Regions from separate parts of the Homo sapiens genome. Here regions 2 and 3 are each linked to region 1. Evidence: promoter capture Hi-C in 16 types of primary human blood cells and fetal thymus (Javierre and others, 2016). All regions are on one chromosome and are shown on one strand. Each heading gives the region's core, a stretch centred on a gene start or on the middle of the fragment in contact. The rest is flanking DNA. Distances are from core to core; before and after follow the strand shown.

Evidence for each region. The method cuts DNA at HindIII sites, captures the fragments that hold promoters and counts their contacts. A CHiCAGO score of 5 or more calls a contact.
Region 2: the fragment with the promoter of MBNL3 here is called in contact with the fragment with the promoter of INTS6L in region 1 in 1 of 17 cell types (monocytes); the score reaches 5.2 in monocytes.
Region 3: a contact is called between the fragment with the promoter of STK26 here and the fragment with the promoter of INTS6L in region 1, in 2 of 17 cell types (non-activated CD4 T cells and fetal thymus). The highest score is 5.6, in non-activated CD4 T cells.

The regions. Positions count from the first base shown.
Region 1 is chrX:135,518,103-135,522,073 of GRCh38, forward strand. It overlaps INTS6L (integrator complex subunit 6 like), which reads left to right and starts at 2,558. Exons shown (of 18, transcript NM_001351601.3): 1 at 2,558-3,001; 2 at 3,139-3,216. The coding sequence starts at 2,891. INTS6L-AS1 (INTS6L antisense RNA 1) reads right to left here and starts at 2,572. Exons shown (of 2, transcript NR_046740.1): 1 at 2,465-2,572; 2 at 1,981-2,270. RefSeq lists enhancers at 2,712-2,791, 2,822-2,881 and silencers at 3,132-3,401, 3,462-3,661. The HindIII fragment of the contact is 2,771 bases long and covers 1,998-3,971 here.
Region 2 is chrX:132,486,981-132,490,932 of GRCh38, forward strand. It overlaps MBNL3 (muscleblind like splicing regulator 3), which reads right to left and starts at 2,058. Exons shown (of 9, transcript NM_001386889.1): 1 at 1,871-2,058. RefSeq lists a silencer at 2,337-2,906. The HindIII fragment of the contact is 7,236 bases long and covers 1,373-3,952 here.
Region 3 is chrX:132,021,199-132,025,445 of GRCh38, forward strand. STK26 (serine/threonine kinase 26) reads left to right here and starts at 2,104. Exons shown (of 12, transcript NM_016542.4): 1 at 2,104-2,209; 2 at 2,310-2,461. The coding sequence starts at 2,420. RefSeq lists enhancers at 1,652-2,198, 1,686-1,735, 2,186-2,345, 2,199-2,746, 2,716-2,785 and a silencer at 1,896-2,145. The HindIII fragment of the contact is 2,994 bases long and covers 146-3,139 here.

The DNA.
Region 1 (3,971 bases), core at 1,308-3,807:
TCACATCCCCATCTTAATAATCCCATCCCTATCTAATATTAGGCACAATTCTTAGCTGGCCCCATGATCTCCAATCCTTGGTGTTACATCCTGTATAATATTCTTTCCTTGAGTGTGGGTGGGACCTGTGACTTGCTTCTAGTTGAGATTATCTACATTACATAAGGCTCCATCTTGGAGTAAGAGATTTCTCTGCTGGCCCTGAAGTAGCAGCTATGTTGTGAACAGCCAATGGAGAAAGCCATATGGCAGAGACCTGCAACAGAAGGTGGACCTGAAGGTGGCCTCTGGTCACCAGCAACAGCCCCAAGGAAATGAATTCTGCCAGAAATCTGAATGAGCCTGGAAGCCAGTTCTTTCCCAGGTGAACCTCCAGATGAAAACAGCCTGGCTGACACGTTGACTGCAGACTTATGAGACTAAGTAGAGAACCCAGGTAAACTTAGACCTCTGACTCATGGAAACTGTGAGATAGTAAATGCTTGTGTTGTTTTAAGCCACTAAATTTGTAATAATTTGTTAAACAGCAGTAGAAAACTAACACACTGCCCCCAACAGTCCTATATTTTTTGTACCCTAGCCCATGTAGGCATTGCCCTTCTACACTGACATTTGTATCGGAATGGAAATGGGGGCTTCTAGTATCTTTTTCATCCTTATTTCTTCATTAATTCCCTACTTTCCACCAGAATGGCCTGAAATGCACCATACATAGTACTATCTTTGGCTGAGTTTTTGTTCATATCATTCCTTCCAACCCAGATTCCCTCTCTTCCCTTTTTGTGCCTTGTTCGTGAAATCCTATGAATTTCTAGACTGGACCATTGTTTCCATAGCACTTTTTAACTTGCATCCTTGTTTGTCCCTGATTCATATACTGCCATATGACTTCTTTTAAAATCGTATTTCTCTGAGAATGTTATTGAATGTGCATATATAATATATGAAACATATACACAGAACATACATATATATATAGAGAGAGAGAGAGAGAGAGAGAGTGTATATAAAATATATAAAATACTTTTTTGAGATGTTATCTCATTCTGTTGCCCAGGCTGGAGTGCAGTGGTGTGATCTCAGTTCACTGCAACCTCCGTCTCCTGGGTTGAAGTGATTCTCCTGCCTCAGCCTCCCAAGTAGCTGGGACTACAGGCGCCTGCTCCCATGCCCGGCTAATTTTTGTATTTTTAGTAGAGACGGGGGTTTCACCATGTTGGCCAGGCTGGTCTCAAACTCCTGCCCTCAAATGATCCACCCACCTCGGCCTCCCAAAGTGCTGGAATTACAGGCATGAGCCACTGCGCCTGGCCAAAATATATAAAATATTATGTATGTATATGTCATCATCTCTCCTCAATGAAACTGCAAACTCATTGAAGTCCTGGATTCCACATTGTCAATAGTAATTGCCAGGAATACACAAGTCCAATTTTTAAAATTGTGTCATATGAAGTAGTCAATCAAGTGTGGTTGGCCACTTACTGAGTCTCTTCACAGAGCCAGACCTGAGAGTATCCGTAATTGTTACCCTAACCTCAGGGAGCTGCATTTTCCTCTACTGAAAATTGAATACAATGCCATCTGCCATAATTAATTCAAAGATTAAACAAGGCTACCGTGGGTGCCTGGCTCTTCATAGGCACTCAATAAATGTGAGTTGAGAGCCTGCCCCTGTGGTCCCAGCTACTTGAGAGGCTGAGATGGGAGGATCGCTTAAGCCCAGGAGCTGGACGCTGCAGGCAGCTATGATGGGGCCACTGCACTCCAGCCTGGGCGATCAAGCGAGATCCTCTTTATTTATTTATAAAAATAAATAAATAAATAAATATGTGAGTTGAATCACAATCTAGGTTTGCAAACCTCCATGTGTAAAGGCTGCGCAGAGGGAACAGTGGTGGAATTATCACAGGCAGGCCAATGTTTCAAAGAGCTTAGTGAAACTGAAGAAGCTTGTGCATACAAAAGGCCAGTTTAGGTAACTGTAACTGTGTTTAAGCTTTAGTTTCCTTTCTAAGTAGATATATGTGGAATGCAAGGCCAGCAACCAACTCACAAATACTGATCAAGACGGGGGAGGGATCTAAAGGAATGTGAGTACGTCCTGCCAGGAAAGAAGTTTGCTGCTTCTGAAATATTTTCGTCTTCGCCACTGGCAGGATTGATCGATTGCAGTTAGCGAAGAATTTTCTGTGCAAACTGTCCAAGCATCTGCTTCTGTACTTCTGTACAACTGTTGCTCAAATTCACTCTTCTTTTCGAATCACCATCTTTGAAGAGAGACAGAAAAATCCATTTAAACCACCCGAACTAATCATTCGAACTGCTTCCAAGTCCTTTAAAGGAGAATCCTAGCGAGGGTCCGTAACACTTCCCCTTACCCTCTGCCTGGGTTCAAACTTCAACTCCCAGGGTTCGCCCAAGTCCCTCCCCTAGTCCTGTCATCTAATGAATATGCAAATACCACATAATTGGCAGCCAATGGCATGGGTTCTGGTCACATGGTGCCGATGGTAGGTGAGCAGACAGAAGTTGTCAGTGAACAGAGACGGCGCTCAGTCTGGGGCGAGCGCTCTAGTGAGCGCGGACGGATGCTTAGGCAGTAGTCCTGGCAGCGGCAGTAGTGGTGGCAGCAGAAGAGAGGAAGGGGGAGGGCCCCGAGGGCTACACACGCTCACACTTTCAAGTTCCCTTGGAGGGAGAGGAGGTGGGGCTGCAGAAAGAGGAGGCCAGGAGCGGTCCCATCCGTCCCGTCCCGTCCCGTCTCCCCCTCTTCCTCTTGCTCCTTGCTCCCCGGCTCTGCGAGAGTTGAGGGTTCAGGTGGCCGTACGCGGCAGTGAGGGCAAGAGGGCCGGGAGAGTGGGGAGCGGAGGCAGGAGTGCGGGGGAAGATGCCCATCCTGCTGTTCCTCATAGACACGTCCGCCTCTATGAACCAGCGCACTGACCTGGGCACCTCTTATTTGGACATTGCCAAAGGCGCTGTGGAGTTATTCTTGAAGGTAAAGGGAGGGGAGGGGAGAGATGGGGAGAGCTCCCGAGGGATTTCAGGGTGTGGATTGAGGTGCTTCTGTAACGTTTGTATCGCCCTCCCCCCTCCTTTCCTACGCGACCCCCTCCGTCATCCCTTGCCCCGCAGCTGCGCGCCCGGGACCCGGCCAGCCGTGGAGACAGGTACATGCTGGTCACCTACGACGAACCCCCGTACTGCATCAAGGTAAAGGGGCTACGGGTGGGGGGACAGGCGGGAAGCGGGAGCAAGTCGGCGGGGGCTGCTTACCCCCCTGCCCCCGCCTAAGGCGGTCCTGCGTCGCCCGGCGGGGCGGGCGGCGAGGGGGTGCGCAGAGGGCGGGCGGAGTGGTGCCGTCGGCGGCTTCGGAGTAGCTGTCGCGCCTGGGGTCGGGGAGAGGGGACCGGGGAGGAGCAGCCCCGGGGAGAAACCGCAGGAGGGCCGAGCTCGTGGCGCGACAACCGCAGCCGCCTCGGAACATGGCGGACATTTTGCTTTTGTATGAGCCTGCGAGAGGGAGACTGAGGGCGCTGCTGAGATGGAAAGGAGGGAGGGGAGGGAGGAGCGGGGAAGGAGGGCCCGAAACCCGGAGGGAGGCTGCGAGGCGGGCCCGCCCCTTCGAGGCGCACCGCGCGAGGGTCGCCGCGCGGGGGGCCGGACGGAGCCTGCGACTCCGCCCCGAGGTCCTGCCGGCCGGGCGCGCGGGCTTTCCCGGAGCCTGGGCTCCTCCTCTGGCCCCTCCTTCCTCCCCCGGTCTTCCTCCCCCTCCTTGGGCTCTTCGCTGCATCTCCTCCTTCTCCCCCTCTTCCTCCTGGTCCCCTCCCCTTCCTGCTGAGAGCGTGGCAGAGCCAGCCGCCGGCCTTCAAAGACTAGACAACCGCCTTTGCACTCGTTGGCCTCTCACCACCCCCGCGCAATCGGAAATCTGTCCGCGACGCCAGTCTCCCCACCCCCAGACCCGG
Region 2 (3,952 bases), core at 808-3,307, 3.0 Mb before region 1:
AAACATTTTTTTTTTACAAACTCCTTCACTTATGTTTTCATATAAGGTCTCCAATCTCATCACTGTATGAGGCAGCAGAATGTTAACTGGCAAAATTTCCTAATTTCTCTGACACCAGTTTAGCTTGTCTATTCTGGCCTCAAGGTTTAGTATTTTCACTTTTCTTTCTTTCTTTTTTTCTTTTTTTTTAAGGATGCATTTGGTCCGAAGTCTTTTAGCAGCAAGGTAGCACATCCGGAAGCAAACAGTACTGAACTGGGATCTAAGTCCATAATCACTAAAAATGGGAGAAGTTGCTTTTTCTCATCCTCCCTTTACCAAAATGCAAGTGTTTATTGCTCTACCTGCAGGAACTCTCATTTTAGACATGAAGCAATGAATTGCCCCACATACTTCTTTCAAGAATAATATGAAAAACTGCTGAAAATTTGTTGTATAGTAATTCCATTGTAAACAGTTTGGTTGTTTGTTTCTAGGTAGACTACAGCACCTGGGCAGAAAACTGCACCATGCTTTAATAAGGGCAAAACAATATTTTTCTCCCTTTCCACACACTTGCTAAATTTAGTAGCAGAGCGTCTGCCAACCAAGTAGTTTCTACTGCTTTGGGAGAAGGAGTGAACAGCGATAGAATATTATCAGCTGAGCTGTGGGCAGAAGCCCATTTTAGTCTATATTTGAAGAAGTGTTGGTAAATATGAAAGCATCCCCCAAAAGTATCGCACATTAGAAAAAAGTTAAAAATTATTTTAAAAAGTAGTTAAACATTCAGGATTAGATTTTCATGGGCCAAGGAGAAGATGGAAATATAATCAGGAAAAATCCAAGGTGTCTGATAAGCCTCATTGTCTATTTACCTTTCACTGGAGGGGGAAACAAAACAAAACAAAATTCAGATAAATTGTATCAAGCATGGATGTTTAGTCATTCCCACATACCAACAATCTGTTTTCCAAACATTATATCAGTAATCACCCAAACGTTTATTCACTAAAGCAGGGAGTCCGCTTAATAAAAAAAGTACCAATCACTTCAAAATTAAATCTTGCAAGTTTTGTTTTAATTGATTCTTTCCCATGAAGTCTACCCACAAATACGGAGAGGCTGTGGGGATCCCAGCTCAATTTACAAACGATGTAAGAACATCTAGGAGAAAATAACTCCTTTAAAACATATTACTTTAATTAGAGCCACAATTAATTTATCTGTTTTATCTATCATCTAGCTAGCTAGCTAGCTAGCTAGCTATCTAAGAGTGCTCAGAAAAACACACAGTAGGTCTATTACCCTAATTATGAAACCACAACAAAGAATCACTTAAATGTCAACTTTCATTACTCGTCTGGGTTTAATTTCGTTTTCTTACCATAAAAGCTTATTGTGTGAGTGTTAAAAACTAAAGTTCCCTTTTTAATAGTCTCCTAAAATCTACTCTCATGCCCTTCAAACCCCAGTAGTAAAAGCGAGCTGCCCAAACGTGTTGACTCAGGGCAGGAAGAGACAAGGTTCTGCAAGGAAGCTGTGGCACTGCTCACGATATCGCGTGAAAATGGGGAAATTCGTTGTTAAAAAGCATTTGCTGATTATATGCCATGCAAGAAGTTCCTTTAAATTAAAAAGAAGAAAGTAGAAAAAAAGAAAGAAGGAAGGAAGGGGAGGAGGAAGAGAAGAGGAGGAAGAGAAGGAAGAAGAAAAAGGAGGAGGAGGAAAGGAGGAGGAAAATGATCAAAGCTCTAAAATCGCAACAAAGTTGCAGGATGACTTTTCCTCCTATTTGCTATTTTGTAAAATGAAGTTTAAAAGGCATTATTTCCTCGGCGTCCGAGGAAGGCAGCCTCTCTTACAAATCCCAATTCATCTCCAGCCTTACCTTACGCTGCTAGCGCAAACCCAGAGGCTAAGGGGCCCTGCTCTCAGCGGCAGCAGCAGGGGCAGCGGCAGCGACAGCGGCACATGCCATCTGTTAGCGGCAGAAGCAAAAGCAGCGCTGCGCGAGGTGGCCCCGGTGCCGGGAGAGCCTTTAGCAGGGGTGCATACTGAATGCCGCCATTTTAAAGCGAGGTTCCTGAAATCATTAGATATAAGCAAATTAAAGCCCGCCCCACCTCCAGAACTTCAGGGCTGGGACTTGCAACCCGGCTCCAAGTCGGCCGCTCTGGGGTATAAAATGTCAAGTCTACAGACACGCGCACGCTGACTCTCGGACGGAGGCGACGGTTCCCCCTCTCCCTTCGGCCCCCTTGACCCCTTCGTGCTTTTTGCAAGACTCCTTTCGGTTCCAGGGGCCAGAATACTTTCTTTTCTGGGCTCCTCGAGGCCCCTTCCCGGGGCCGGCCGGCGGGCTGTGGGAGGAGGGGACAAGGCCACGGGCCGGCCCTACCCGCTCCTCCCAGGCTCTTGGTTCAGTCCACTCGGAGCACACCTCGGAGCGCCCCAGCTCCCTCGCGGAGGCCGGGCGTGGGGCTCCCGCCCGGGCTCGCAGCTACCATAGCAACCCCGGTCCCAACCCCGCCCGGCCTTTGCCAAAGGCGTGCCCTCCTCCCGGGCCAGTGCCCTCCGCCGGACGCCAGACGTCCCCTCGCGCAGCCCCGCCGACCCCAGGCAGCCCGGGCTGGGGCCGCGCCTCCGTGCGTCCCGCGCCGGACAGACGCGGCACGCGGAGGGAAACGGCGCCAGCGAGGGGCTTTAGGCGCCAAAACGGAAACTCCCGCGAAACTCCGCGGGCCAGCGGAGCGCGGGCGGGCATCCGGAGCGCCGGACTCGGAAGCGGCGCACGCGGCCGCCCGGCCCCGCCCCGCCCGGCCAGGTAGCGCGGCGCCGCCGCCAACCTCACCTGGCTCCGCGCGCCGCTGCGGGACGGGCGGGAATGCGGCCAAGGGCCGCCCCGGCTCCCGCGCCCACCCCGGACTCTCTGGCCTCCGCCTCTCTCTCACTGCTCCCAAAGAGCGCCAAAAAGTCGCGCTGCGGCTCACGCTCGGAGTGCGGGCACTTTCTTCCTGTAGGGCGCTGTTTCGTCGCGAAATATATTCTTTGTGTGGTTCGCTCACTCGTGCCTGGTTCTCCGAGAGCGCAGCGCGGGCTTTATTCTCAGGGGGTGTGGCGCCTCGCCCCCAAACCCAGCAGCCCAGCCCCCGCTGCACAGACCCTTTGTCATTTCATTAGGAAGGGAAAGGGGGACAAATCATAACGCTCAGATTTTACAAAAGCGAAAACAAACGAAGCAGGCACACATCCCCAGAGGCGGGGTTGGGGTAGGGGTGCAAAGTTTCTGGCTCTTCAGGAACTGAAGTGCCAGTGAGAAAGGCAGTGTGGTTCACAGCGGGACGCTCATAGACACTTCCCAGACAGGTGAGGCGAAATGGGTCCTTTCAAAATTGATCTTAGTCGATGAATAAGTCCACTCGCTACAGGCTAAATAAATACATTCATACTCACCAGCTGCCTTCTTGGGGGTTTTATCTTTCATAAATGCCCCAATCGTTTATTTCCCTCTAAGAATTTCAGACAGGGAAATGCTGATCAGTGCAATCTGTTCCCCTTCTTCCACGGAGTTTGCAGGATAAGAGGAACCCTGAGGTAAGGTTCCAGATACTTTGGAAAATGGACAAAGCAAATGCAATTTTATATCTTGATTAAAAAGTGTGCATCTGCACAGGGAAATTACAAGTTTCGATTTAATGCAAGTGTAATAGGAGCACCAGCTGTCCCTTAATTGGAGCCCCACAATAATAAATGCGTGCTTTTATTTAATTTTACGAAGACAATTGTAGTTGATAACGCACACATATGCAGGATCGTCAGTGACAAGCTCATAGCAATTCATGGCTGCTTTCCTGTAATCAGCTACTTCACCCAGAGACAGAGTTCTACATGCTCTGCACAAAGTGCAAAACATTGCAGGAGATATTTAAGCAGCAGTTAGGTTGAAAAGTGGAGTGAATTCTCAGGCTAA
Region 3 (4,247 bases), core at 854-3,353, 3.5 Mb before region 1:
TATAGTGTATACATTATGCACCTAGTAACCTCAGTGGAGAATTCAAAAGAAGTTCATTCATTCATTCAACAATTATTTATTGAGGGCCTACTACATGCCATGAACCTAGTCTCTGGGGATACAGCAATGGACAAAATGTATAAAAAGCTTGCCCTCAGACTCCTGCCATCCTACCTGAATCATTCTCATGTAAGAGAGGCTGGATCTCTGCCCTCAAGGACCTAATATGGGCACACAAAACAAATGAAATATATGAAATAAGAAGAAAGAACTACAGTGTGAGCGCTGCTCACATTGGAGGAGTTTGAAGGAGGGCTTGGAGCAACTAGGAAGGGTCAATGGAGGTGAGATTTGAGACAGGTCTTAAATGATGGAGCTTGATTCAGACCCTTGCGACTTAAAAGTGTGATCTAAACATCATCACCATGTGAGAGCTTGTTAGCATTGCAGAATCTTGGGCCCAGTCCAGACATGGGAGATAAAAATCTGCGCTTTTGAGGGAGCAAAAGAACCCTCGGATTTCTATGGACATTAAAAGTTTAGGTGGCACTGCAGGTTTCCGGTCAGGCTGGCAATGTTGTGAGCTGGGTTGGTGGGAAATCGAGACTAGATTGGAGCCTAACATTAGGTTAGAAATAGTGAAGGGCTGGACTTGGGGAACTAGGAGTAAGGAAAATGCAATTGTACCTTTTATCATCATTAAACACAAACAGAAACCATAGAGAAAGTAGTAAGTTTATCACCAGTCAGAGGGACCTGCGTCTGAATTCCCAGCTGTACCACTTCTTAATTGCGTGACATTTCGGTCAAATTATTTAACCTGGTTGAGCCTTTTTCTTCATCTGTAAAATGAGGGGAAATCAATAAGACTCCAGAAGGCCCTTGTACAGGTTCAGTAAGGTATTAATAACACATAGAAAGCACTTAGCAGTCCCTGGCACAATGAAAATAATATCCATTAATAATAACGATATTGATAAGAATTATATACTATTCTCTGAAAAAGATTTAAAAGGAAGAAGAGAAACTATCTTTTACCACTAGAGGCCCCCCACCGTGTGGTGCGTAGAGACCCATAACAAATTTCAAGGTAAGGAACTTCATCTTCATTTTAAACTGGCACTCGACTATTACTTTTTTAAAAAGTAATTAACCCCTTACGTGTTCCCAAAGGTGCCTTCATAATGAAATTCCTGTTACTATTATTACCAGTGTTACTGTCGCTACTGTTAGAGTACTCTCAAAAGAGCCTGTCTCCCTCTCCTGGAGTAGAACTTAAAATGGGGCGGAGGCAGGGAGTTACCAAAACCACTGCAGTGTATGCTGATTTCAATAACCTGTACTGCTAACGATCCAATCTCATTTCCCAAGCCTCTACTATCCTCATTAATTTTTCTGCCGATGTACCATCTGTTTTCCAATTTCCCTCTGCCTTACACGTGCAGAACTTGTGGTAGAGAGAAGCCCTAGTTTGGCCGTTCTGCAAGGGATAGCCCAGGAGGTAGGGGGAACCTTAAGTTGAAGTCACCTGAAGCATGTTTGGGGTCAGGGAACTCGGAAAGCAAGAGTGTGGCCACAGATCTGCCCAGAGGCGCGACCCCCAGCTGAGGAGACCAGATGGCGGGAAAAAGCGGGGGTCCACCGACTCCGCGGCTATCTGTAATCCTACCCTTGGCCAGGCCGGGGAGCCAAGAAAGACTTCCAACACTCCCCAAGTTTCAGCTCAAGTCGTCTCCGAGGCTGCGTGTGCCCCAGCCTCGCACGCCTCCCTGCAACGTGGCCGCATCTGGGGCGCCCTCATACCCTCAGGGTTTCCCAAACTCTTCCATTCTCTTCCCAGGCCCAGCCATGTCCCAGGTCTCCGGGTCCCCGGGTTCTCCTCTCCGCGTGCCGGGAGAGTCTCCAGCTTCTCAGACTCCAGCAACCCCAGCCAAACCTCTTCGCTGCCTGGAGCCTTGGCTCCCGCGACACCGCCCGGCTGCGGGGCGGGGGCAGGGCCAACGGCGGAACCGCCCCCAACCGCCTCCCAGGCCAGGCGAGCAGGCGGGTGGCTGGGGCGCCTCCACCTCCTCTTCCTAAAGCGGCGAGGCGCAGAGGAGCGGCATCACTCGAGCCCAGGTCCCAGCCACCACCACTCACAGCGCTCGGCGTTCAGGAAGAGGAGCAGCAGCGGAGGCGGCTGCTTCAGCGGCGGGCGGGCGCCAGAAAGGTAGACTGAGTCCCAGGGAGCTGCGCCGCTAACAGCCCACCTCCTAGCCCCGGGCTACGCGCCGCCAGCCCAGTAACCCCACTTTTGTGTGTCCTCCCAGGCCCCGATCGAAAAGCCTGGGAGGGCCGCCGAACTACCCCCGGAGGGAGGAGCCAGTCCGAACCCAAGGCGCCACCGCCGCAGAAGCGGAGCGAGGCAGCATTCGCCTCCATGGCCCACTCGCCGGTGGCTGTCCAAGTGCCTGGGATGCAGGTGAGGAAGCGCAGGCCGCCCCCGCCGCCCACGTGACTGCTTGGGAGCCCGGTGCGCCCTCGGTGCTGGGCACCGGCGACAAGGGACGGCCCCAGGGCTCCCCTGAGGGCAGGGCCGGTCACTATGGCCAGGTGACCTGGGAGTAGGGCTGGAGGTGTTTCCTGGTGTGTAGGCTAGGTAGTGCTCTTCGCTGGGAAGGCGAGGCGGGACTGGAGCGCGCAACTAGGTGGAGATTGAGGGCGGTTGGGGGTATAAAAATAGGCCAGAGCCACAGACACCTGCGCCTGCTGAGCTTGGCACGGTTGGGGATGGGGGGGCGGAACTTAACCTGGGAGAGATGGAAGTGCCTTGGAATTTGTGGGGTATAACGCGAGTAGTGAGTGCCCTACACCCCCCACCCCAAACACACACTCAAGTTGGGGCGGGGCAACACCAGGGGTGGCGGCGGCGGCGGCTTGAATTGGGCTCTTCCTGTGTGCGTAGGGCTAAGAGAGAGGTGACCTCTTTCTCCCTTTCGGTACTGCTGCTTAAGGGCAAAGTTGTAGCTTGCTCCCCGACCTAGCCCAGCCCATAGTGTGGCGTGAGAAATGCTGGTTCTGTTCAGAGTCACTGAGGTGATGACTTCTCAGCCCCCTCCGTGCCTTTCCCACAAGATGACTGTTACATGTGGTTAAAGGAAGCTTTTTGTCTTGGACAAGGGACTACTGCATGGGACCCAACTTGTTACTCGAAGTCTACCCAGCCCAACCCCCTCCCATTATATTTTCATTTTATTAAAGATAAGCTATGTCAGAAAACTTTTTATGCTGTTATGTTTTTAAATCGGTGCATTTTAGGCTATCTGCTAAGTGTTATCCAAATTTACTAACTTTTTAAAGCATTCATGTTCTATTTTTTTTTCCTTTGCTAGATGGCCTAAACAACCCATTTAGGGGCTAAAACCACTGAAGCCTCAGTCTTTCATGATCTAAAATGTGAAAACAAACTTTTTTGAAGTTCAAAAATAAAATGTTTATAGTAAATAGCTTATATTTCTAGTAGAAATCAAAGAGCTGTAGACTGGGGCCTCAATTTACTTATTGATACATGGAGTTTTTTTTTTTTTTTCAGTGTTCTCATTTTATGAATGTCCACAAAAGTGATTTTTAAATTCTTTCCCAAAATGGGATTTATTTGTGCACCTAGAACTCTTGGTGTGTCCTAAACACCAGACATTTCAGCTGCATTTAGGGCAAGTCTGGGTTGAGTCTCAGGAAGTTAGTGTATATTAAATAAAGAGAGAGAGAGAAAGGGAAATAGGAAATAGTAGGGCTTAAAAAAAAAGATTAATCCACTCAAGCCTTGCAAAATGCCTTAAACTTTCTTCCTCTCAGGCGGCCTCCCCTCTCCTTCCCTCCTTCTTTTCCCCACGCACCCTGCCCCACACCCCATTCATTCAGTTCTGCCTTTGATTGTATCAAGGGAATTCATAGTTCACAATACTAAGTACAGTTTTGCTGTTTGATCTGGGAAAAAGTGACATTTTCTCACCGTGCTCTTCTTTCCATTCTGTGGAGAGTAAAACGATGCACATGTGAAGTTTGTCTCTGAGGGTCTCCATGCTTCTCGCTCCATTGTGTGCGCGAGCCTGCGTGTGTGCGTCAGCAGAGTGAGTGCCTCCAGTTCATCAAGTTTGTGATTCTGGGGAACTCTGTGTGCTGAGGGGAAAATGGTTTCTGATTTTTATTTTATTTGTCTTGAACTTATTGAATTTATATGGTTTAGGAACTGCTTGCTGTTCAGTATT